Regions from separate parts of the Homo sapiens genome. Here regions 1, 2, 3, 4, 5 and 7 are each linked to region 6. The links are contacts of gene promoters, found by promoter capture Hi-C in blood cells and fetal thymus (Javierre and others, 2016). All regions are on one chromosome and are shown on one strand. The core of a region is centred on a gene start or on the middle of the fragment in contact, and the rest is flanking DNA. Distances in the headings are between cores, read along the strand shown. Region 1 overlaps SACS (sacsin molecular chaperone). Region 2 overlaps SACS (sacsin molecular chaperone). Region 3 overlaps SACS (sacsin molecular chaperone). Region 4 has its middle 8.3 kb from the start of LINC00327. Region 5 overlaps TNFRSF19 (TNF receptor superfamily member 19). Region 6 holds the start of MICU2 (mitochondrial calcium uptake 2). Region 7 overlaps SGCG (sarcoglycan gamma).

Region 1 (3,493 bases), core at 149-2,648, 1.8 Mb after region 6:
AATAAACGGTGGTCATTCTCAGAAAACCCTCCACTGACACATCCAATCAGCCACCATGTCGAAGTGTTTGACCACGATAAATATCGTTTGGCTTCATTGCCACCTCCTGTTGGTATTGGCACAGCTCTCTCCTGTCCCTTACTCAGGCCACCACTCAGGGCCCCAGCTGTTCTCACTGCCCCACATCCTTTCTCCTCCAATCAACCCTTCATATTACCATCAAGTTATTGTATAATCGAGTGTGACTAAATCCCTCCCCAGCATCAAGATATTTTTAGTAGTTCAAGTTACCTGCATCGTAATGTCCAAATGTTTCCCAGCCTTGTCTCCATCCCTCCTTCCTGAACAGCCCCAGAGCTCTGCAGGCCTGTTCATGCCTTTGTACTGCTTTTTTTGCACCTTTCTCAGCCCATTCTGTTTCCTCCTGCAGCATCTGGCTCCTCCCTCCATGTTCAATTTTGATGGCCCACCCTTGATAGCCCCATTCAAATGTCACTTCAAAATTGTCTCTCTCCCCCCAACACTGTTTAAGGAAAAACGGCAATAAGTCCAGGACAAACGACGCTTATGTCTCCTTTCTTACTCTCTCTGAATACTTTGTATATCCACCCATCCCAGCTCTTTCCATATTACACAAACCACATATTTACTTGCTAAGTCCCCCTCTGGAGACATTCAAGAGCAGAAAACATGCCTCCATATCCCTTGTTCACACCATCACCCTCTCCCCAACCCCAGTGCCTGGCACAGAACCCAGCAAATGTGTGCACAAATCAGGATGGAGATCAGTAAGAAGGGTCATCGCAAGGTCTTTCTGGGGAGGGTTGGTTAAAAAGCTAGAACTTCAGCCTTAAATCATGTAATGGAAGAATACTGATCTCATACTTAAGTGGTTAAGTGCATGAATGGGGTATTAGAAACACTCCTTCACATTTCAGGAGGTAGCAATAAAAGACATCAGAGATGGGAAGACTCAAATAACATTACTGATTTTCCACCCATCAATCAGTGCTCAGGCAGAAGAGCAGAAGGCTTTCTCTAGCCAAGCCCGTGCAAGGTGACTTCCGCCTTCGTAGACATCTTCAGCATTTAACTTCCACTCATCAGTGACTGCACAGGAATGAAATGCATTTACTCATCAACTATGGAAAGTCCCTCTTGATCATGGCCTCTTGTATGTCACTCTGTGTTCCACATCATTCACTGCCAAATAAGCGAATGTAGTGATGTTCACATGTGTGGCTTGTCATGACCACTCACTATAACCACTTACCATCTCTGTACAAATTTAAATTAGGGGAAGAAAAGGAAGTCCTTCTTAACTTTTCTGTTTTGTGTTCATTTCTTTAATAATTCTCTTATTGGACAGATATTAATAAACTAGTTATTAGAGAAAGTTGTGAGTTGATTTATCCTTTCACAGCAAACTCCAAAACAATTTTTCAAAGCCTAAGGAAGAGATGCACCCATTCACTTTATATTAGTTTGGGAGATGTAATGGTGAAAAAAACAGGGCCCAAGGGGAGTTGGGATTCAGACTGTGGAGGACCAGAGAATGAAGGAATCATTGGCATTCATGCAGGATCTAAAACTTTTTCATTTTTTGGGCCAAAATTTCATTTTTTTGGCACAGGAATACCTCAGAGATATTGAAGATTTGGTTCCAAACCAGTGCAATATAATGAATATCACAATAAAATAAGTCACATAATATTTTGTTTTCCCGGTGCAGATAAAAGTTATGTTTATACACTATACTATAGTCTATTAAGTGTGAAATAGCATTATGTCTTTAAAAATGTACATTCCTGGCCGGGCATGGTGGCTCACGCCTGTAATCCCAGGACTTTGGGAGGCCGAGGTAGGCAGATCACGAGGTCAGGAGATCGAGAACATCCTGGCTAACACGGTGAAACGCCATCTCTACTAAAAATACAAATACAGCCTGGGCGACAGAGGGAGACTCTGTCTCAAAAAAAAAAAAAAGTTTTATCATGAGATTGCCCCAACTCAGTCACATCATCAGGCTCCACTGCTAATTCTAGTTCTTGCTGTTTCCATCACTTCTGTAGTTACTTCCTCCAATGAAATCTTGAACTCCTCAAAGTCATCCACAAGGGTTGGAATCAACTTCTTCCAAACTCCTGTTAATGTTGATATTTTGACCTTCTCCCATGAATCATGGATGTTCTTTTTTTTTTTTTTTTGAGATAGAGTTTTGCTCTTGTTGCCCAGGCTGGAGTGCAAGGGTGTGATCCTGGCTCACTGCAACTTCCGCTTCCTGGGTTCAAGCGATTCTCCTGCCTCAGCCTCCCAAGTAGCTGGGATTACAAGCATGTGCCACCATGCCCGGTAATTTTGTATTTTTAGTAGTGATGAGGTTTCATCATGTTGGTTAGGCTGGTCTCGAATTCCTGACTTCAGCTGATCCACCCGCCTCGGCCACCCAAAGTGCTAGGACTACAGGCATGAGCCACAGCACCTGGCCAATCATGGATGTTCTTAATGGAATCTAGAATGGTGAATCCTTTCCAGGAACTTTTCAATTCATTTTGCCCAGATCCGTCAGAGGAATCACTATCTATGGCAGCTATAGCCTCATAAAATGTATTTCTTAAATAATAAGACTTGAAAGTCAAAATTATTCCTTGATCTGTGGGCTGCAGAATGGATGCTGTGTTAGCAGGCAGGAAACGATATTCATCGCCTTGTACTTCTCCATCAGAGCTCTTGGGCGACCAGGTGCAATGTCAATAAGCAGTAATATTTTGAAAGGAATCTTTCTTTCTGAACAGTTGGTCTCAACAGTGGGCTTAAAATATTCCGTAAACCATGCTGTAAATGGATGTGCTGTCGGCCAGGCTTTGTTGTTCCATTTATAGAGCACATGCAGAGTAGATATAGCATAATGCTTAAGCGCCCTAGGATCCTTGGAATGGTAAATGAACTTGGCTTCAACTTAGTCACCAGCTGCATTAGCCCCTAACAAGAGTCAACTTGTCCTTTGAAGCTAGGCATTTATTTTTCCTCTATAGCTATGAAAGTCCTAGATGGCATCTTCTTCCACCAGAAGACTGTTTCATCTACATTGAAAATCTGTTGCTTAGTGTAGTCACCTTCATCAGTTATGTTAGCTACATCTTCTGGAGAACTTGCTGAAGTTTCCCCATCAGCACATGCTGCTTCACCTTGCACTTTTATGTTATAAAGATGGCTTTATTCCTTAAACCTCATGAACCAACCTCTGGTAGCTTCAAATTCTTCTGCAGCTTCCTCACCTTTCTCAGCTTTCACAGATTTGGAGAGAGTTAGACCTTTGTTTGGGTTAGGCTTTGGCTTAAGGGGATGTTATGGCTGGTTTGATCTTCTATCCAGACCACTCAAATTGATTCCTAATCAGTAATAAGGCTGTTTTGCTTTCTTATAGTTTCTGTATTCACTGGAATAGCACTATTTAATTTCCTTCAAAAACACTTCCTTTGCATTCACAACT
Region 2 (3,541 bases), core at 707-3,206, 1.8 Mb after region 6:
GATTTTCTCATACCACTTGCAGGCAAGCAGTAAGTCAGTGTGAGGGTCACAGCTGCCACTGAGTGTAACAGTGCCTGGGGGGCAGTACAATGGGGTAGTACTGTGTAGGATTAGGACTTAACCTGAAGTCTCTTGAATCCAATGTTACATTAAGTCACAGGCTCTTAGAGACAAGATACCTTGCAGGCTAATCCTCTTATTATAAAAATGATCTGACCTCTGTGATGACTGGCCCAAGTCACTAAGGTAGCAGCAGTCAGGACTAGAACGCACACCTCCTGATGTTATGTCCCACACACCTCTTTTTATAGAGTATAGAAAGTACAACTTTCAAGTGACAAATGTGAGCTAAGAATGACTATATGAGACATAACAAATGCTAGATATTTAACTAAATGTTAACTGGCCTCCTAAATCATAAAACATCTTTTTAAAAATACATGACTTAAATCTCTTTAAAAAGGTGTCTCAGAAGGTCTGACTTGATCCCACTTTTTCTCAGTAACTTTCTGTCACATACAGTCATTGACAATGACTTCAGAGGTATACTAAATTGAAGTGATGTGATCTCGGCTCACTACAACCTCCGCCTCCCGAGTTCAAGCGATTCTCCGGCCTCAGCCTCCTGAGTAGCTGGGATTACAGGCGTCTGCCACCACGCCCAGCTAATTTTTATATTTTTAGTAGAGACGGGGTTTTGCCACGTTCGCCAGGCTGGTCCCAAACTCCTGACCTCAGGTGATCTGCCCACCTCAGCCTCCCAAAGTGCTAGGATTACAGGCGTGAGCCACCGCACCCAGCCAGAGGTATACTACAATTTATGAACATTCTTTTTGACACCAAAGCTCCCCGGAGTAGAAGTGAGATATTAGGAGTCTATTGGTTAGGGTTCTTATTGGATTAATAATTTATTAGTTTATGGCTTTCTTATCATGTTTCCTTTCATTTTCCTTGTTCTCTCCTCTCCTTCAATCTTTCTTCCCACCCAACTTCCAAACAATGTCGAGGGTACTCCTAAAGCGGAAAATACACAAAAGCATGGCCTTTCACAACATCTTTCCAAATGCAGGAAAGTGTTACTATACATAAATGGTGTCCCTTTATCCTACTGATAATATAAAATACAAGTTGTTTGAATAGAATAAGAGGCTTTGGTCATTACATTGCTTGTCATTTTGAGTTTTCAGATTTTATTCTTTGTTCTCTAAAAATACCAACTGGTGGAGACACCTTCCCACCAAAAGCAGAGAAAAACATCTGAAGAAGTGGACATAAACATGCCAAAAAGTACAAATGATAGACTGTTCATTAAACAAAGCATTATTAATCATTAAAAACTGCCTGTTAGTGCATACAATAAAATTTGTTCCTAATTATTGATTCTTACCCTGATATGGCGCCATATCTTTTGACCAAAGAGTCTCTGTTCCGTATTGAGTTTCATCATATAAAAATTTAACTTCTGTCGCCCCAGCATCTTCTGCATTCTGAATTAATTCCTAACCAAAAAATATACCAAAAAATAGTAATTAATAACACAGTAATCTACTGCTCATCTTTGTATTTATCTATAATATTTAAGAAGTTAATATACTTAAATAAAGGAAACCCACTATTTGCAACATTACCTTTAAGATCTGGTGAGGCTACTACTGAAAGTAATTGTTACATAGATGTGACAGTATGGTTGAAAAGTCCTTCTCCAATTATTTGCACTTAAATTTTGTCTTTTAATTTGCTATCACTTAGCAAATTAATCCTGGGCCCTATTTATAACTGTCTCATATTTACAATCTACCCAAAGCTTTTGTTCAAAGGAAATTATTCTATTTCCAAAAGCTGCACATATCGTCCTGTGTGGCAGGTAACTTAAGCTTGAGTGATTGCCAAAAATAGACCTTTTTTATCCTTTGCTTACTAAACTTACCTTTCCACAGAAAAACAATAAAACCAAATAGTAGCAATCTATATATACCCTTCAATTGGCTGCTTTCTTGAGAGCCTGAGATATAAAAATGTCTTTGTCCTGCACTAAACTGAAAGCTTCCAGATGGTCAGGACTGACTCATTCCTTTCATCAAGAAGAAAGCACTACCATTTGTTTGGTGAATGGTGGGTGAGTGGAAGGGTGACCAGCTCCCCGTAATGTAGAAAGGAAAGGGCAAACTGCAAGATTTGCCTCAACAAAATTTCCAATCCTAACAACCCCAATCACTTCTGCACACCTACTAAAATCACGCTGGGCTCCGTTCAGTTTGAAGGGAGCTCCAGAATCTGAATCAAGAATCAGCTCCTAGATCCAACCCCATGATCATCAAAAGAGCTTTTTTACTTCCCCAGAGCCTTGGGATCACTAAATTGGAGGTACAGATGGGCAAAAATTGAAGAGCACTTTAACTGATACTACAACAATGTCAACAGTGATGCCTACATCAGAGTAGAGAGGTGGTACGATGACTACATGAAACAAAATAACTACAAGGAGACTGAGGGAGCAGAAGTGAAAAGTCAGTTCTGAGATTGTGCTCAGTTCACCCAGTGCATCCCAAAGGGCTGGAGTGTGGTACCCACCAGCTGTTCCACCCCAAACATGAACAGCTAAGTCGTGCCTCCTGCAGCCTCATTATCAGCTAGTGATTCTTCCTTGTTACGTAACTAACTATTTCTCATGGGATTTTAATTTTTTAGGCCTCATTCAATCCCAGAGAATCCCTAAAAATTAACAATCTTATTTACATTAGGATATTATAATAATATGAAGGATGGAAATAAGAATTAAATAGGTAGTGAAAAACAATGTTAACTTACAAAATGATAGCACTTTAGATGTTCGACCTTGTTTTCATTCAGGTATCTATTTATTATTTATGTGTACTTTAGGGAGCAGAGAGGCAGAAAACTAAAGATAAAATCTAAGTCCCAGGTTCCACTCATTCTCAAGTTGAATAAAAAATAGGATAGGAAGCTTTTCCCCTAAATTGCAATCCTGAGAGATTGTTTGTAAACTAACTCTGGGAAACAGCAACAATACATTTTGTATTTGGTCTTGGGCAAGCCACTAAGATCTCTGGACCTGTTTCAGCAAACACAAATACCATAGAAGGTGGTGGTGTAGGTCTTGGTGATTTCTAAGACTCCTATTAAATCTAAAACAGTCTAATTCTACCACAACATCCAAGGAACAAAGATTACATTGAACTGGCTACAATACAAATATATCTATAAGCAAAGCAGAAGGCGCGTAGCCCTCAGCTGTTTGCCATAGACCTTTCTCATTTCTCAGCAAGGATCCCACTCGCTCACTTCTAAACAGATGACAACCTACTCCTGTTACCACTATACCTTTATTTTAAATGTATTCTATTCACTTCTTTCTACCCCAAAACCACCTCGTAGCAATACTCTTTCCATCCTCACTTTCCTAATAAGTCAATACAAAAACTGTTTTTGAATTCGCTTTCTGTGAACCACTGGTGCCTATGCTGAAAGATGGACTGCTCCAACAGCCCAGTCTCACCATGATCACTAAAGACACAACAGT
Region 3 (3,692 bases), core at 310-2,809, 1.7 Mb after region 6:
TTTGATTTGATACCACCTTAAAACATGTAAGATACATTGACAAAGCTTTAAGAAAAATATAATAGTAAGAACCGTGAATGATAAACCACTTTTAATATAAGCTAGAAACCCAAAAATTTTTATATGAATTATCACTATAATAATGACTTGGTTTCTAAACTAATTTTAGTGTATCACCTGCTTCAAATAATAACATTTATCATAAAAATGATTTCTATAAAGCAAATCTTATATCCTATAAGTTTCCAAATGGAACATGAACTTGGGGAAAATAGGACCACTAGTTGAGTCAAAAATTTTTTATTTATTAAAAAAAAAGGCAGTCAGTAAAATGACACACGAGGCACTGTAAGAACAATCGGCTGACTCTCCCCAATGAGAGCTAGGCTGGCCACCTTCCCTTCCTCTGCACACCCAGGACGGGGGTCCCTGCCGTCACCAACCGTAGCACACTGAGCCAGACTCCAAAACAGAAAGGCTGTGGTCGCCTAACTTCACAGTCACAGATCCCAGAATCTACTTCCCTCTCTGTTCTTTTTGTTTGTTTTTGTTTTTGTGTGTTTTGAGACAGAGTCCCGCTCTGTCGCCCAGGCTGGAGCTCAGTGGCGCGGTCTCAGTTCACTGCAACCTCTGCCGCCCGGGTTCAAGCAGTTTTCTGCCTCAGCCTCCCAAGTAGCTGGGATTAAAGGTGCCTGCCACCACGCCTGGCTAATTTTTTGTATTTTTAGTAGAGACGAGGTTTTACCATCTTGGCCAAGCTGGTCTTGAACTCCTGACCTCGTGACCCACCTGCCTCTGCCTCCCAAAATGCTGGGATTACAGGCGTGAGCCACCGAGCCTGGCCCCCTCTATGCTTTTTAATCGGAATATTTGTGTGCGTCGTATAATAGAGGTGCATTCACTATCAAACTTCCCATTAAATACCACAGCTTAAAATACAGATTCCCACACCATTCTTTGATTAGAGACTAAATGTTCTATGAAGTGAATGTTTCCAAGTCATTTGAATATGGTTTTACCGTGGTATTTGTAATAATAAAAATCTGTATTAGTATGGTTTCCTCTCTCCTTTAATATTATAGTTATTACCACCAGAAAAAAAATTGTTGACATAATTTCTAGCTACTTAGGTAAATGCAAAAACAGAATTCGAAGAGCCAAATGAACAAAAACATCAGGCTTCAAATGAACACAACATTCAGTTATCCTACCTGAATATCCCCAGAGTTGTTGTTGTGCTAGAATACAATTAAATCCATTCTTAGAAGAGGTCAGAATTGTCAGTTTTCACATGATGGCTACAGAAATTATTCTGTATCTTAAGATACTGCTGTCTGTAGAATCTTTACAGATCCTTATGTAAAAGAAAACCCAGAAACAAAACTCCAAACATAGCAGAATACACATCTAAGATTTAAAGCTATATTTCAGTGCAAACTAAATCGAAGTACGTAAGAGTCAGGAGTGTTGGTTCAGAAAGAAAGCAAAGAAAGAATTATGGACTTCATATGCGCAAATTACATTATAGCTGCATAACGTCATTTGATAAGCTACCAGTGAGCTTTTTGCACAGGCTATCATGTTCAGAGATTCTAGATTAAAAAACCTGATTTTTTAAATTTTTAATTTTTAAAAAGTTTTGGAGTACCTACACAAAGTGTACAATTAATTCCAACTTTATAATAAAGAAAAAGAGATTTTATCATCTATTTCCACTGCTTGTCCATGGTAACCAACAATAATTACAAACTTCTAAGAATTGTTCCACGAACATCTATCCCTCCTCTGCTTGAATGAAGCAAGAAACTTTTAATCAACTGGACTGCTACAGTTCTGTGAGATTTCTGTGTATTTGGGTCCCTTAGGCTAACTAAACTAGTAGCTAAGATAGAGAGCAAAGGTGTAACCAAAGAAACTCAATTCTTCTCATCTTAACATCATTCTAATCACTTTAGCAACAGGCACCTTGTTAGTTAGGCAATACTGATTGAGTGCTAGAGATATAGAAATGGACAACTAGACATGGTCCCAGACCTGGCCCTACAGTCTAATGGAGAAGGCAAGTATCAGATAAATTATTACAAATACTTAAACAGGTACCAGTGTGTGAGTGCCATGGAGAACAGAGCATGGAAGCACACATGGGTTGCATGAAAGATGAGCAGAGGTAGTGAATGGAGGAGTTGGCAAGGAAGCCACATGTATCACACCTGAGGGAGGGACAGAACATGCTGTCCTCCAAACAGGAAAAAGCATGGAACTAAGGGAAGGAGATTAAAAATAGCAAATATCAATAGAACCTTCCATGTACCAGGCATCTTCATAACACCCAGAAAATGGAGCCAGCTAATGAAGTGCCTCATAGGAAAGGTTACGGATTTTGGTCTCATCTAATAAATAAGTATGAAAATTTTAAAAATTATAAATAAGACCCGACACCAAGCATCTGTACCACTAAACTGTTCTTGTTTCCTTTTTCTTCATCCAAAATCCATTTACCTGCTCTTCTAACTATTCTCCAATTTCTGATATCCATCCATTTACTTAAGCAACTTAATACAGAAATAATTCAGACCTGGAAATTAAAAAAACAAAAATCATAGCTTCAACTCTGCAACTCAAGCAAGTCATTTAAATCCCTCAATTTCTTTGAGCTTCAATGTCTCAATCTCTCAAATGGAGATACAGGCTCTATTATCTCATGGTTGTAAAGAATAAACAAGATTACAGAAGACACTGATTTGAAGAGAACTATTAACTCACAGACACTAAGAAAGAGATTTGCCTTTTGGCCTCTGCGCCCCATCTCCTCCATGCGGTCCCCACCCAGCCCAGCAGCTGAAGCATCAACTTATCCAGTCAAACTTGGCAAGCAGGCTCTCGGCCAGACCTTGGAAATATAAAAATAAAGATTGCCCTTGCTCTCAAGGATGTTGCAGTGTAGCACAGTAAAAACATGATTCTAATAAAGCAAAGAGGATCATATGGACTATGTACTGGGTTCCAAGAGCAAAAGAGAGGCATTCACCTCAGACTGCAGGGCAGGGGTGAGGCACAGGGCAAGATGTCAAAGAAAGCTTCCTGGAGGTGACACATGAGCTCAGTACTGAATGATGAATAAACATTAGCTGGGCAAAGTAGAGGATGGAAAGAAAGTATTCTAAGCAAAAGGAACACCATGTACAAAAGGGCAGCTATGAGAAAATTTTCATGCAGGAAAAAAAATACTGAGCACCTACACTGAAGTAGGCACTGTGCTAGATGGTGGTAACAAATCTGACAGGTCTCTCTGCTCTCATGAAATATAGGGAGGATTCAAGTTCATCAACCTACAAGTGCTTGTATAATTAGAACAGAAGAGGGCAATTAGAACAGAAGAGGGCGCTTGCATGCACCAAGGCCAGTGAGACAGCACTCCAAAATCATGGAAGTTTACAATCATGGAAAGTCCCCTAGTTCATGCTAGCAGGGCTAGATTTATCCTGATAGATTCAATGTCCACTGGAAAACCTGCAGCAGGAGGGTGACATGATCAGATGAAGCCCAAGCGCTGTAGACAGGGACATCAACTGCAAGAGTCCAGTAACAACATTACGAGAAATTAGAGGACCTGTAATAGGCAGTGGAGTAAGACCAAGGGACTGGCACAGAAAATTTAGTCAACAGATCCTGGAGACTGTGGGGAACAAAGA
Region 4 (3,732 bases), core at 805-3,304, 1.9 Mb after region 6:
CATCCCGACTCTCGAGACCATTTTCTTAAATTGGACAGGAATCTGATGCCCATATTACCGTACTAAAATTATACACCACTTTATAATTTGCAAAGTACAGTCACACACATGGTGATGGTTAATTTTATGTGTCAACTTGAACAGGCTAAGAATGCCCAGTCTAATATTATTTCTGTGTGCGTGTGTGTCTGTGAGGGTGTTTCTGGAAAAGATTAGTATTTGAATCAGTAAACTGGGTAAAGAATATCTGCTGTCACCAAGGTATCATCCAATCTGTTGAGAGCTCAGATACAACAGAAAGGCCAAAGAAGTAAGAAGTGAGAATCTTTCTCTCTCTCTCTCTCTCTCTCTCTCCTCCCTCTCTCTCCCTCCCTCCCTCTTCCTCCCTTTCTTTCTTTCTTTCTCCCACCCTCCCCTTCTCTCTCTCTTTCTCTCTCTCTCTCAATTTCCCCTCTCCATCCTTGAACTGGGACATCCATCTTCTCCTGCCCTTGGACATCAGAGCTCCTGGCTCTTGAGCCTTTGGACCCTGGGACATACACTAGCAGAGCCCCCACCCCCGCCCCATTCCCAGGCCTTCACCTTCAGACAGAGCGTTACATCATTGGCTCCCCCAGCTCTCAGGCTATCAGGCACAGACTGATTCACACCACATTTTTCCTGGTTCACCAGCTTGCACATGACAGATAATGGGCCTTTTTGGCCTCCATAATTATATGAGCCAAATCCCCTCTTTTACATATATGTATAGACACACACACACACACACACACACACACACACACACACACACACACATATATCCTATCAGTTCTGTTTCTCTGGAGAACCCTGGATAATACGAACACAATCTCATTTAATCCTCACAGCAAGACTGAGTTATTTATTTACATTATTGCTTCTTTCCAAATGAGGAAATTGAGGCTCAGAGAAGTTGCATGGCTTAGCCAGTCACACAGCTGGTAAGTAGAAATAAGATATAATTTTTCTGATTCAGATTTCAATATTCTTTTTTTAGAACCATTGGTCTAAGGTCTATCCTGTGCAATAATACCAAGCATGTCTAATTCCTCTTTTCTGCAACAGACTTTCATATAGTTGACCACAGATGTCAAGTGTCCCATAAGCATTTCCTATTTCTCACAAATATGCTCTGTTCCTTGCATCAAGAGTCATTTGACAAAGTTTCTACACCCCACAGCACCCTCACCTCTCTTCTAAACAGAGCAGTTAGTTTGAAAACTCGAATATAAAGACAATACTTTAGGTATGGCCAGCCCAGCACTAAGGAGAGCACAACTGTCTTCTTCATCCTCTAGTGTTATACACCCAGTAATTCAGCCTGAGCACATGATGTCCATAGCAATATGTTAAGCTACACATTAGGTGATCGCAGGTCTCACTTTGCCCAGGACAGTCTCCAATATGCCTGTTGTCCTGGCTGAATTGTTAATGATGCTCTTGTTTTACTCTTGAATGTCCTAGTTTGGATGACAATTGCATGGTCTCCTTACCTATTAGGAAACATAGCGTCAACCACTTCCTTCCTACAGTTGCTGTTGCTTAGGCTTGTCTTCTTGGGATAAAATTTGGACATAAGCAACAAAAACAAAAAATCTTAAATGTATCCACCTGCTTGAATCCAGCCTATATTATACTGCACGAATGGTCCCAGTTCTTCCGTGCACTCTGTCCTGCTTAGCTTTGCAGAGCCCTCACTCTGCAGGGTGGTGTCATTCTCCAGCCTTCACCATGGCCATGTGACTTGCTTTGGCCAATGGAAAGTTAAGAGTTATGAGATCATACACCCCTGAACAGTGTTTCCATGACTGGACTTGGATGCATATGCTTCCGCCATCACCATGAGAAGGCTGTGTCTGGGATGGCCGCTGTGCCCTGAGAGGAGGCTGAGAGACACATGGAGCACAGGTGCCCCAGCTCAAGTGCCCCAGCCTAGAGCTGAGATCAGCTGACAATAATGAGTGCTGGTTTAAGCCACTGAGTTGATGGTGGATTTTTTAAGGCATCTATACACAGTCTAGCTGCATACTACTCCAGATTCCCAGGCTTTGGGTATCTGACCCTACCATCCAAGCTACCATCATCCTAAATGTAAAGAGTATGTATGCCATACACATACTCAAGTCCCTTTTAAGCCGTTGAATAGGATAGGGCTGTTCTGTAACCCTCATGGAACAGCTTTCCAAATTCATAATTCAATCAGCAGTCTAACCAGACCAGTTAGTTATAATAAATTAATAATTGCTGACTTTTATTGAGCACTTACTATTTGCAACGCCCTGTCTTAAGCATGTGGTATGAACTATCTCATTTAATCCCCTTCACTCTATGAGTCAGATGATATAATCCCTATTTTATGATGAGCACAATGGTGAACACATGGCCTGAGGAACATACCCAAGTCACACAGCTGTGAGTGCAGCTGGGGTCCTCCCTGACAGCAGCACCTTCAATCCTGGGCACCTCATTCCCACCCATCGAATGCTGACCACATTCCAGGAGAGCCTGGCACATGGCTTTGGGGGAGTTGAGAATCAGTCTCAATTCTTAGTGGGATATCACTCACCGAAAAGCAGTCAGTGTGATATAAATAAAAAGAACATGAGATTTGGAGATAGCCAGACAAATGTGGGTTCACATCTGGGCTCCAGCACTGACCTACGGTTGTCTCCTTAATCTCTCTGAACCACACTTTGCTTGTCACAAAATGAAGGTAAAAATGCTAACTTCACATGGTCGTTTAGACTGTATAAAGCTCCTGGCTTGGAAAATTAGCCAGTTTCAGGAGATATTTGCTCTCCTCCCGGTCTTAGGTAAAAATAGGGTTGGTCCAACATCTTGCCCTGTGGTGTGTGGACGTGCTAAAGACTGCACTCAGGCCCTCCCTTGCTGGCCAGGCCATGTTTTGTGTTTATGAAACTAATTGTTTCACTGACTTGCACTTGTTGCTACTGACTCTTACACTGCATATTCAGGTCATTGCGTATTCCAAAAAAAGAATTCAGTCCTCTCCTTGAGCTAGCTAAGTGAAATGAAAGATAAGGCATTACTTCCTCTGAAAAACAAAATTTGGAAATTGAAAAACAAAACAAAGAAAACATTTTAAAAATTCTAATTAGAAGAGGGAATGGAAACTCATTTTCCAATTTTGGAAACCACTTCGTCATTTTGACACTAAATGTAGAAATGAACTCAACTTTGGAGCATGTAGGACCTCAGATCTCTACCACTGCAGATACTAGTAGCTGCGTTGTGCCCAGATAGCAATATAGGTAATGATTACAATCACAGGCTTTAGACCCAGAGACTCCAAGGAGGCTTATTAGCTGTAGGACCCTGGAATGTTTATACTTCGATTTACTCACTTGTAAGACAGAAATTACAATAATGCCACCTCATCTAATTGCAGTTGGAATGAAAAGAACTGATACTTAGAGAAACCTTAGCCCATAGTAAACTCTCAAAAAAAAAATCTGCTGAATTATCATTACTAATGAGATTTTGTTCAGTTAAATTTCTCTTTTAGAGCACATTTTTTTGATTTATGTAAGCATTACTGTAGCCATCCTAGGCAAAGCTACAAGAAAAACAAGGAACTGAAAATAGAAGGTTACTGGTCTCCCCTTTTAAACATTCCAGTTAAGTACCTTAAAATGCTATCTTAACATTTTTTTTAAACTTTATTCTTTCCACCTTTTCTTCTCTTTCCAC
Region 5 (3,391 bases), core at 770-3,269, 2.0 Mb after region 6:
CTATTAATACTTACCAACCATCAATGAAGCAACTCATTTTACATATGGAGAACCAGAAACTTAGAGAGGTTAAGTAACTTTTCCAAAGTCATGCAACTACTGAATGACAGGTTGGCATTGGGACCAGATTGTCAGATGCCCAAGCCCATTCAGGCTAACAATAGGTTCTCTCTCTGTTGTAAGCTAACAGGCTAACCGGGAAGATCAGTCAAAACACGTAAAATGATTCAAGAACTAATGAACTGAGTAATGTGTTACTACTGTCTCTAAGGACAAAAGGAGGTCAGAGAGAAGAAGAACATTTGGTTGAAGTCAGAGAAGGTAGTTCCTGAGCTGGCAGATTCAATTCCACTCAGAAAGCTTTGGTTGAACATTTATTTGAATGATTGATACTGTCAGAGATACAAATCGGAACAAAATATGCCCCTTCTCTGAAAGTGTTTTTAACTCCTTGAAGAAGAAAGTTAGTACACAGAATCTTATGATACAGGACACAATGGGCAAGTGCTAAATTGCCACAAACCTTGGAGCAAGGAAATACATAGGCTCAGAATTGAGGGAAAACTCGTGAGAGCCGTGGCTTTTGAGCGAGGTGCTGAAACTGGAGTAAGACAAGTAGGTAAAGCTCAGAGGTAAGATGGGAGAGCACGAAGAGGAAGTAGAGAGCAAAGGAAGGGCCACGCGGCGCAGTTTATAAAGCCTGCTCCAGAGGCGAGGCAAGGCTGGAAATAGGTGTAGGGCTGCACCTGGACATCTCGGAATGCTAATCTAAGGAGCGCAGAATCCATTCTTTACAGTGAGGAACCTCCTGTGACTCTTCAGCCTGACAGTAGCAGTGATGAAAGGCGGGAAGCGGGGTTGATGACCGAGGCAGTGCTGTGGTGAGGGGTGGGGAGGGTCTGCATGGTGGTGAAGGAGGTGGTGGGCACCAAGACAAAGAGAGGACGATGGGGGACTGCGTGAGACCTTGCAAAGGAAGATGCAGTAACTCAGCTTAGAAGTGCTGAGTATCCATCGTGTGCTAGGCCCCGGGATATCAAGGAATTAGGAGATGCCCTCGGGAGATCCAGGTGTAGCTGGGGAAGGAAACAGATAAAGAAGTTCAGCGGGATGTGGGAATGAATATGGTAGTGATGTGCACTGAGGGCTGGAGTCTGATCGGGTAGCCGCTGGGAGATGGGACAGGGAAGCACACACTTGCCTTGAGGTTCAAATTAGATAACGTACATCATTTGGAAATCGTTTACCAATAAGTCGTTATTGGGATCTATATTCTGGATGTGTTAGATTTGAAATATACAACCTCTATCAAGGTGTGACATCGGGAATAATATTTTTAACATTGTTCACAAGTACCTAGTATAGTGCTACGCCGTTGGAAGCCTGGGATCACAAGCTGTGCTTTTGGGCAATTAAATACAACAACCTATTCACTCATTCATTCAACAAATACTGATGGAGGGGCTCCAGTGGGCCTTGGGGTATAGACAAGAAACAGGGACTTGGGTCCATCCACACAGTGCAGTTGAGTGGGAAGTCAAAACCAACACGTGAGAAACGGTGGATGCCTTGGTACCAAAGTCATGCACCGTATCTTGGGTGAACGAATAGAACAATACTGCTTGCACTTTTACAGCATTCTACTGGTGGAAAAGTATTTTACAGACGCGATTCTCTTAACCCTTTCAGCAAAACTGCCCAGTGAGTCCCCGGCCCTGGCCCCGCCTCGCACGCGCTGGTGCTACAGCTGTGGTGCAGACGCCCTTCCGCTGCGAGGGTGCGGCCGTCTCGGGGCGAGTGCTTCCCGGCCTGCAGGAGGCGAACTCGGGCTTCCCCGGGAGGCGTCCGTGGGAACGCGCACCTGCGAGTCCCTGCCGGCTGAGGAGCCGAGGTCTGCGACCTCTGCCGACCTGAGCTCAGGCGCAGCAGCGCAGACCTGGCCGCCGTATCCCCTCTGGCTGGGATGCGGGCCCACGCGGGAAAGGCTGAAAGGTGGGGAACACCCCGGCGGAAAGGAACCCTCCCTCTCTGCTCTGAAGGAAAGTTTCCCAACACAGCCATGTTCTTGGTGGTCTCCGGTCCCCCATCCCCAAGCCCCCAGTCAGCCTCACACTCATCCGCTTCAGTAGCCGCGGAGTGGGGGCCTCCAAAGAACCCAGCTGCAGAGCAAGTCCGGCTGACGCAGTGTGCGCTGGGGGCGGGGCTCTGGACGGGGGCGGAGCCACGGCGAGAGCCGCGGTGAGGGCGGGGCCCGGGTGGGCGGTGCCCTGAGCGGGGCTCCTAGTGGGCGGGGCTCTGGGGTGGCGGCCGTTGCCGGGCTACGGGAGAGCGCGGAGCCCTGCGCTGGGAGGTGCACGGTGTGCACGCTGGACTGGACCCCCATGCAACCCCGCGCCCTGCGCCTTAACCAGGACTGCTCCGCGCGCCCCTGAGCCTCGGGCTCCGGCCCGGACCTGCAGCCTCCCAGGTGGCTGGGAAGGTAGGTGCGTCGCTGTCCCCGGCGCGCGGCGTCCCGCGAGGTCTTCAGCCCTCGCCCTGGTGGATCCCCGCTGGGTGGGAGCCGGGAGTGGAGGCGGCCGCCCTAGGGAGGGAGGAGCGCAGGCGGGGGCTGCTCACGGGCGGAGTACTGCGCGGCGAAGGGAACCCCCGAAGGGGCTGACCGGGTCTCGGGGCCGTGACAGGCGGCGAGGCGGTGGGAGGGGAGCGTGTGAATTCACGCCGGGTCCCCGCGGGCGACGCGAGCGACGCGACCTGGACTCCTATCCGGGATATTGTAAATAGATCTGCTTGTGAGGCTCACGACTGGGAGCCTGTCACTCTGCCCAAGCCCGACCCGGCCCCGGCGCCCGCCCGCGTCCTGCGGAGGTCCCCTGAGCCAGCGCGCGGCTGCAGGGGTCTCGGGGCCGCATCCCGGACCAGCGCCAGCGGCGGGAGAGCGTTGTCTGTGAGCGGCCCAGGGTATATTCCTTCTGTGGGAAAGAGTTCCTTAGAGTTCAGCAGGAATTATTAGTATATTGATGAGTAGAGCCTGTGATAGATTTAGAGAGTGAGAAAGCCAGCTCTTACAATGCGTGTAATGCCATCTCATGGGACAGAAATTTGGCTAATATACTCCTGGAGATCAAGTTTGGCGGATCAAAATTCTGTGATCTGTTTTGATGGTAGTGCACTAGTCATCCAGTCTCCGTTCACTATTGTAAGAAACCCATGTCATTTGTTTGCATGTTAATAAAGGACTCAATATGCATACAAAATCATCACCATTGTTCAGTGTTTCTTTTAACTGAAACAGTTTAACCCAAGATATGTATGAAGACGTAGTTTTTACCCCATGACAGTTTCTTTGACTACAAAACCAAACAATTTCTTTATGTAAACAGGAAACAGTTAT
Region 6 (3,344 bases), core at 180-2,679:
CACAAGGCCTTCTTTCCTCTCTTTTTTGTTGTATCTGAATGTTCCTTGAGTTTTTCGCTAGAAAGGCATAATGTAAATCTAAAAAAGAAAATAATAAACTACTACTTTCAATTTTCAAAAAAGCTCATATGTAAAAACTTACTAAGTCTACAAAAATTTTAAAGCACTACTCATTCAAATTTTCAAATGCGTTACAACATCATTTATCCTGAAATAGGGAACTTGAATCTTTTTTTTTTTTTTTTGAGACGGAGTTTCGCTCTTGTAGCTCAGGCTGGAGTGCAATGGCTCGATCTTGGCTCACTGCAACCTCCGCCTCCCGGATTCAAGCGGTTCTCCTACTTCAGCCTCCCGCCACCACACCCAGCTAATTGTTTATATTTTTTAGTAGAGACCGGGGGGGCGGGGCTGGGGTGGGGAGCGGCTTCACCATGTTGGCCAGGCTGGTCTCGAACTCCTGACCTCAGGAGATCCACCCGCCTCGGCCTCCCAAAGCCCTGGGATTAAAGGCGTGTGCCACCGCGCCCGGCGGACTCTTGTCTTTAATAGATGGAGGTTTTAGGAGCAATTTTTGCTTAGAACTTATGGTCCACTAAGATATTAAGGTTTATAATCATGCAATAATGTTCCTTAAAGTTGATAATAAAATCTGGAAATCAACTGGTTAATTTTTGTGGCTGACACATTCGTGACTTAAAAAAGCAATCGACAGAACTTCATCATGCTATACAAAGAAAAGATCGTAAAACTTAGTTGCAAAGCTTAACAAAGGTATATCCCACAGGGGTAACTGGACGCAAACCACCTGCGGATGTGAATGCCACTTCACTGACCAGAGAGGTAGCAAGAGGCGAGGCGCAGTGAGATTCTGAATTAGGAGCCTCGAATTAAGACACGCCCACACTCATCACCACTAAATTAGTGCGGCCAGTTTTGTGGGCCGTGGTGTTCAGCGTCCGCGGGGTTCTCCCAAGGGAGGCAGAATCTCCGGTCACCAGCCTCGAAGGCCCTCGGGGACTCAGGCCGGGGGCCGGTCCAGGAAGGAGCGAGTCCCACCAGTCGCAGGGCGCTCCGATCCGCAGCGGCACCTCCACCCACGGCTCCGGGAGAGCCGCCCAGAGCCAAACCACTCCCCGCCTAAGGGCGTCAGGGGAGGGAGGAGCTTGACTGGGGCTAGCAGAAGGAGTTAGTCCTGTACCTGTGCGGAGACTGTAAAACTGCCATCCCGCGCCGCAACACTGACGCGGCTGTGGTGCCAGGCCGCTCCTGCTCCTGCCAGGGCCGCGCCGGCCACTGCCGCTGCCAAGGGGCCGGGACTCCGCACAGCCTGTCGGCTGACAGCGAGCCCCCGTCGCAGTTTTCCGCCCCAGGCCGCCACCCGCGCGCAGCTACCCGCAGCCGCCGCCATCTTTGCGGAAGCGCAGCTAGGCGGCGCTTCTCTCCCGGCGCCGCCGCCTACCGCTTGGGAACTCTCGCGACATCCGACAGGCTTCCGCCCCGCCTACCGGGCCTGCGCCGTGGGTGCGGTTGCTGAGGCGACGCTCGCAGCCGCAAGAGGTGGCCTTCGGTTCCGGGGCTGCCTTCTAAGGCTGTGGGGATGGGATGACAGGAAGAGTATCAAGACAGTATAATATGACTTCCTAGTCCAAAACAAGATAGTGCCCTCGGTTGTGTGGGCAGGTTTCTCCTTTTCATTTTTTCACCTTGTAAAACTGTGAAACGTTTTTTGAAATAGTCTCTTCTGCATCTGTGTTGTTCATGTCTTCCTATGCTTATAGTCTTGACTGTTCTTTCATTTCTGCTAAAACAACTCTCAGACAAGGCATTCTGTTTATTTCAGTCCCTCACTATTTGCTTATAATGAATTTAAATTCAGTTTCAACAAAAGGTTTGATAGTAGCTCTTATCCTACCTAGAACTAAAAGTCAGAGACAGCAGCACACCAGCCCCATGTCTCTATCATCAGGGACCCAGAGGTTTTCCCCAGTGCAGATTTAGAACGATACCTCCAGTCCTGGCTGTTGCATTGGTGATAAGTGATGTAGCTGAGGCAGACTACTTGGTTTTATTTAACAGCCTCCAATCCTCCATTCTTTGGTCTTCACTTTTCCTGAGTAACTCTTTTTAATAAACTCTTTGTTCAGCCTCTGAAATGTCCCCAGCTATTAGAAGCTTTAGTTGGGCATGCAGTAACGGAGCCAACATCAAAGGGGCCAAGACTCCTAATCACATAATCACTGCTGTCTTGAAGTTTTGCACAAAACAAAACTTCAAGAAACAAAAACAAAAACCTGTCACACGAAATCTAATTTGATCATTCAGTGGAAGTTCCGTGGATCCCTTTGTTATTATCTGCCCTTAATCCTTGCTCCCTTTCTCTTAGCCCGCTTGTCTAAATTAATCTGCAGTCAGAGGTTCCTCACTTTTCCGTCAGCTTCTGGACTTACTTTTCAGTGTGCCTTCCCAGGTAGGAAGTAGAGAGATGAGCCTCACTTCACCGACTTGTGAGCCAGACCTCAAGGTTTGAATCTTAGCTCTACCAGGATGATCACTGTGGTTTGGGGCAAATTATTTAATCTCTCTGAGTCTCCATTTTCTCATTTGTAAATAACTCACGATTTGGTAGATGATCACTGCTATTTGGGGTAAGGTATTTAATCTCTTTGAGTCTCAATTTTTTCATCTGTGAACAACCCTCTTACAGTTTGGGGTGGGGAAGCTAAATGAGATATTTTATATAAAGTGACTAGCCAAATGCCTGGCACATGGTAGGCTCATGACAGATGTGCGTTTACTGTGGTCAAGGTTTGGTTTACTTCTGCCCTGTGAACACAAATGAGCTTGACTGAATGTCCATGATTCCAGATCACTAGCCCATCTTAACCTGAGATTTTCCTGCTTTTTTGTATCTAGCCTGACTTTGTCAACCTCTGGACTGTTTTTCACCTCTGCTAACTCTGGTAGCTTTGGCACATGTCCTGCTTTTCTGGACTATTGACATCTAGCTTGTTTCCTGGTGATAATAGGACTTCCAGGATATTTTGGACACCCTGGATGTCTTACCTTGTAGTTTATTCTTGATTTCCAGAAACCACAGTCTTTACGTGTATACTTCTAACTGCCTCACACAGTTCCTCTAGGTATTTAATGAAACCTGGCATCTATTACTCAGTATTGCCTTAAGCCCAAGATAAGTTTAGATTCCCATTAAAACATGTAGCATATTTAAGAACATTGTCTTTCTCCCACAATTTGACATCCTTGTGGGTGAGATGTCTTCCTTTTCCCTGTTTCTCTAGCACCTAGCACAATGCCCAGCACGTAATAGACATTCAATGAGTGAG
Region 7 (3,652 bases), core at 1,012-3,511, 1.7 Mb after region 6:
TAGCCTTGCTCAGTACTAAAATGCCCCAAAGTTCTATACAGCATTTCCTTTATAGCATTCAAACCTCACATCCTCCCTTCAGTTTAATGCAAGTAAGTCAGGTTTCACAAGAAAATTTTCAAGTTTTGAAGGGAATTTGAGGTTGATCTGGTTTTCAAGATGTAGTTAAAGGAATAAATCACTCAAAATTAAACTTTCTGTATATAGTCAATAAGCAATAAAAACCTCATTTTTCAGAGTTCACAGTTTAAGAGTGTCTTTTTTAATCCTCACAAATCTTTGAGGTAGCTATTATTTTTCCCCAAGTTACTGGTGACAAAGGCTCAGGTAGAACAAGTCACAAGGTCACATGGTAACTACTGAAATTAAACCAAAATGTAACCCTAAATTTACATAGCTCTTTTCACTTTGAAAAAGTTTCATGTGCTGTCTCCAAAACACCCGTCTATGTGATAATTGTACAGCACTTATTTGACAAACAAAGAAACTGAAGCCCAAAGAGGTTTTGTCTCTACCAAGATCAAAGGGCTAGTCTGTGGTACTTGCCTCCACATGATAGACACAAGTCTGGACGTAACTTCATAGAAACAAGACACTCAGAGCTTGTGAACATGTTTAGTGCCAATTGGCTGTGTAAGGTGCTATAGAAATCAAATAGGACACACTGAACCTCTGAAGACAGGTTCGTTTTGTGTAGGCCACCCACTCACTTTGTAAAATGCCCTCTATCACAAAAAGTGGTGCATTTGTTTTTGTTTTACTTATTATAAGAAGAATCTTCAAATAGGTGTAGGGAGACCAACAGCACTGCAACTTTCTAATGATATGACATATTAATAACTATCAATATAAGTTCAAATTCATTTTCCATAGTCTCAGAATCAAGAGAAAGTACAAAAGTGAACTCTATTCCTAATGCTTAGTAAGATGTTCATTTAACAGCATAGCCTGCTCATAACAACTCCCTGATGTTTAAATGGCCAGAATGCATAAACACTTGAAATTGCAAAATAAAAATACAGTGCTTTCCAAGCAGTTAAGAGCAAACTCAACTCAGTGTAATTCACATTTCACAGGCAGTTGGGTGCTTTTACTTATAAATTGATATTTACCTTTTTCCATTTGGTTGAGTCCTGAGTAAACTGCTTTCTTACTGTGACATTCCTATTGTCATAGTAAATGGTTCCTGGTATTTTGTTCCCTGTTTGTGCGAAATATGTCTTCAAGCCCAGCTGATAAAACACGGGATCACTAGATCACTAAACATTTATAAACTAGCTTGGTTCTCATATTATGTGTCCAAAAATTTGTGTGTAGATGATAAAGTGAGGTAAATAAAAATAGTCAAGTAGAAAGTGTGGAGAACAGAACCTTTTGAATAAAAGGTTTAAATTCTATTTTTTTATCCTTAGCTATATGGAATAATGTTGAAAGAAGTTGTTACAGATAAATGCATTCTCCACAATAAGGAATTTATCCTTCATTAGAATCAAAGCTTTTAGATGAGCTGTATTCTAAAATGCATTACATATATCTGTCTTATTAAACATATAAATTTTCATTGAAGGCATACAGTCATGGTTATAAACGTACATCACGGGGTATATAGACTGATACTCCTATAGACTATTGAGTGTTGCTACATTAGGGATCTAAAAATAGCACTCATTTATTTCCCAGTTTATGAACTGACAAGTAGATACAGTCAAAAAGATGAAGATCAAAATCTACTACTATTATGCTTTAATAATAAAGATAGTGGTCCAGGTGCGGTGGCTCACGCCTGTAATCCCAGCACTTTGGCAGGCCGAGGCAGGCAGATCACGAGCTCAGCAGATCGAGACCATCCTGGCTAACACGGTGAAACCCCATCTCTATTAAAAATACAAAAAATTAGCTGGGCGTGGTGGCGGGTGCCTGTAGTCCCAGCTACTCAGGAGGCTGAGGCAGGAGATTTGCTTGAACCCAGGAGGTGGAGGTTGCAATGAGCTGAGATTGTGCCACTGCACTCCAGCCTGGGCAACAGAGTGAGACTCCATCTCAAAAAAATAAATAAATAAAATAAAAAATAATGATAAAGATAGCTGGTTTGCAGCAAAATGGACTTCCTAATAACTTCACAGCTGAATAAAACACAAACCACTCTGGTCACAGGCAGAACTAAAGGCTCCCAACTTCTATAACTGCTACATGAGGAGGATGGACAGATGCCTTCTCTGAAAGCAGTCAAATTCACATTAGAAGAGTCAAGCCATGTGTGTTGGGTTCCCCCCGCCAACCCCCACTAGGTCATCCAAAAACTTCAGTCTGTGCTCCTATGGGAAACAGGGAATGAGGGTAGAAGCTCTTCTGAACGAGCAGAATTTTGTGCACGATGGTTTTCAGATTGTGTCTGCTGATGCAGCTTTGTGTCCCCTTCGATTTGAAACATCGCCTCTTACTTGGCTTTAGCAGTCTTCTTCACATAGTAAATTCCACTTCAAATATGCTTCTATATGCTATTTTCTACCAGCACTATATAAATGTCATCCTTGAGATCTACAAAACATTTAAACTACCAAAAATGTCAACTGGCACCAATGAAAGAAATAAATCCTACTCATCCCAAAATCAGACCTGTGAACAACTCAGACCTGTGAACAACTCCTCTTCATTCTGTTAAATACTATTTTAAGATTTTTCCCAAATCATTTTTGGGCTCTCGGCACTCCCTGCTCCGTTAACGAATTGTATGGTGCAAGTTTTTCACTTGTTTCCTCCCGGAGACTATGAACAATCGAGCCATCCCTCTGGGGATGCCCTGTCCCTGTCCCTGGAGCCTCTGCAGCAAAGACCCTGTTCACGAGTGCAGAAGCTGCTCCATCCCTTTCCTAGACTGCATGCTACTCAGGAGCAGCTGATCCACACAGCAGTAGACAGCTTCCTTTCTCTTTTTAAAAGAAGCAAACTATGGAAGAGGGTGGAGGAAGCGTAAAATAACAAAATAGTTCAGGTCCAAAATTCCTTATCCTCAATTTCAGTATCTAAAAAGCTTGAAAAAGTGAAAATTTTCAAATAAGTCTGCTGTAAACTATTGGTGGCAAAAGCTGATTCAAATTACATAAGGCTATTGATCAGGTCTGTGTATTCAATTTACTGTGAACCCTCATAGCCTTAACTGCAGAAATACTAATGCGTTTGATTACAGGTACAGCCTGTCCCTGGTGGGAGCACTTCATTAAAAAGTTATATATAATTGTATTAACTTTCTAAAATCAAATTATGAGGGGTTTTTTTTTGCCTGGAAAAACACAAAACTCCAACTAGATCAACTATCAAGGCCAAATGAGGTTTTCTGTGTAAATTTTAATATTCAAAAGCAATAAAATCTAAATGCTGAATTGAAGCTTCGAAGTAGCAAGTACTTTAAATAAAGCTGAAGGCACAGAATTCAGGTAGCTCCAGAACAGAGAGCACTCTTAGCCCTCATCTGCCTAACTCTGAAGACTTGTGCCTCAACTATAAAGATGAAGAACTCCTATCTGTCAGTAATAAAGTGTGAATTAGTCCCAGACATGCAGCTGTCCCTGAGGCAATGGAAATATCAATTCAGCTCTACCTAGAGGAAAAAAATATTTAATGTATCTGTTTCCAAACACATATATACCACATA

Evidence for each region. The method cuts DNA at HindIII sites, captures the fragments that hold promoters and counts their contacts. A CHiCAGO score of 5 or more calls a contact.
Region 1: a contact is called between a fragment that was not itself captured here and the fragment with the promoter of MICU2 in region 6, in 3 of 17 cell types (total B cells, endothelial precursors and M2 macrophages). The highest score is 7.9, in total B cells.
Region 2: a fragment that was not itself captured here is called in contact with the fragment with the promoter of MICU2 in region 6 in 2 of 17 cell types (M0 macrophages and endothelial precursors); the score reaches 9.2 in M0 macrophages.
Region 3: a contact is called between a fragment that was not itself captured here and the fragment with the promoter of MICU2 in region 6, in 1 of 17 cell types (endothelial precursors). The highest score is 8.5, in endothelial precursors.
Region 4: a fragment that was not itself captured here is called in contact with the fragment with the promoter of MICU2 in region 6 in 1 of 17 cell types (M0 macrophages); the score reaches 5.3 in M0 macrophages.
Region 5: a fragment that was not itself captured here is called in contact with the fragment with the promoter of MICU2 in region 6 in 1 of 17 cell types (fetal thymus); the score reaches 5.1 in fetal thymus.
Region 7: a fragment that was not itself captured here is called in contact with the fragment with the promoter of MICU2 in region 6 in 1 of 17 cell types (endothelial precursors); the score reaches 7.5 in endothelial precursors.

Annotation. Positions count from the first base shown.
Region 1 is chr13:23,383,170-23,386,662 of GRCh38, forward strand. All of the region lies in intron 2 of SACS (sacsin molecular chaperone), which reads right to left. Among named protein-coding and RNA genes, the nearest start is that of SACS-AS1, 34 kb to the right of the region's middle. RefSeq lists enhancers at 941-1,000, 1,021-1,250. The HindIII fragment of the contact is 4,314 bases long and covers 1-3,493 here.
Region 2 is chr13:23,363,779-23,367,319 of GRCh38, forward strand. SACS (sacsin molecular chaperone) reads right to left here. Exons shown (of 10, transcript NM_014363.6): 6 at 1,388-1,499. Among named protein-coding and RNA genes, the nearest start is that of SACS-AS1, 53 kb to the right of the region's middle. The HindIII fragment of the contact is 169 bases long and covers 1,873-2,041 here.
Region 3 is chr13:23,345,600-23,349,291 of GRCh38, forward strand. The region is part of intron 9 of SACS (sacsin molecular chaperone); the gene reads right to left. Among named protein-coding and RNA genes, the nearest start is that of SACS-AS1, 72 kb to the right of the region's middle. The HindIII fragment of the contact is 3,032 bases long and covers 44-3,075 here.
Region 4 is chr13:23,459,392-23,463,123 of GRCh38, forward strand. No RefSeq gene overlaps it. Among named protein-coding and RNA genes, the nearest start is that of LINC00327, 8.3 kb to the right of the region's middle. RefSeq lists enhancers at 1,234-1,283, 1,813-1,982. The HindIII fragment of the contact is 5,614 bases long and covers 1-3,732 here.
Region 5 is chr13:23,577,051-23,580,441 of GRCh38, forward strand. The region is part of intron 1 of TNFRSF19 (TNF receptor superfamily member 19); the gene reads left to right. Among named protein-coding and RNA genes, the nearest start is that of TNFRSF19, 8.3 kb to the left of the region's middle. RefSeq lists silencers at 2,191-2,670, 2,871-2,930. The HindIII fragment of the contact is 3,323 bases long and covers 359-3,391 here.
Region 6 is chr13:21,602,741-21,606,084 of GRCh38, forward strand. It overlaps MICU2 (mitochondrial calcium uptake 2), which reads right to left and starts at 1,430. Exons shown (of 12, transcript NM_152726.3): 1 at 1,199-1,430. The coding sequence starts at 1,408. RefSeq lists enhancers at 524-1,143, 1,144-1,762, 1,544-1,613 and a silencer at 1,164-1,373. The HindIII fragment of the contact is 1,411 bases long and covers 760-2,170 here.
Region 7 is chr13:23,324,925-23,328,576 of GRCh38, forward strand. It overlaps SGCG (sarcoglycan gamma), which reads left to right. Exons shown (of 8, transcript NM_000231.3): 8 at 1-238. Among named protein-coding and RNA genes, the nearest start is that of SACS-AS1, 92 kb to the right of the region's middle. The HindIII fragment of the contact is 1,536 bases long and covers 1,494-3,029 here.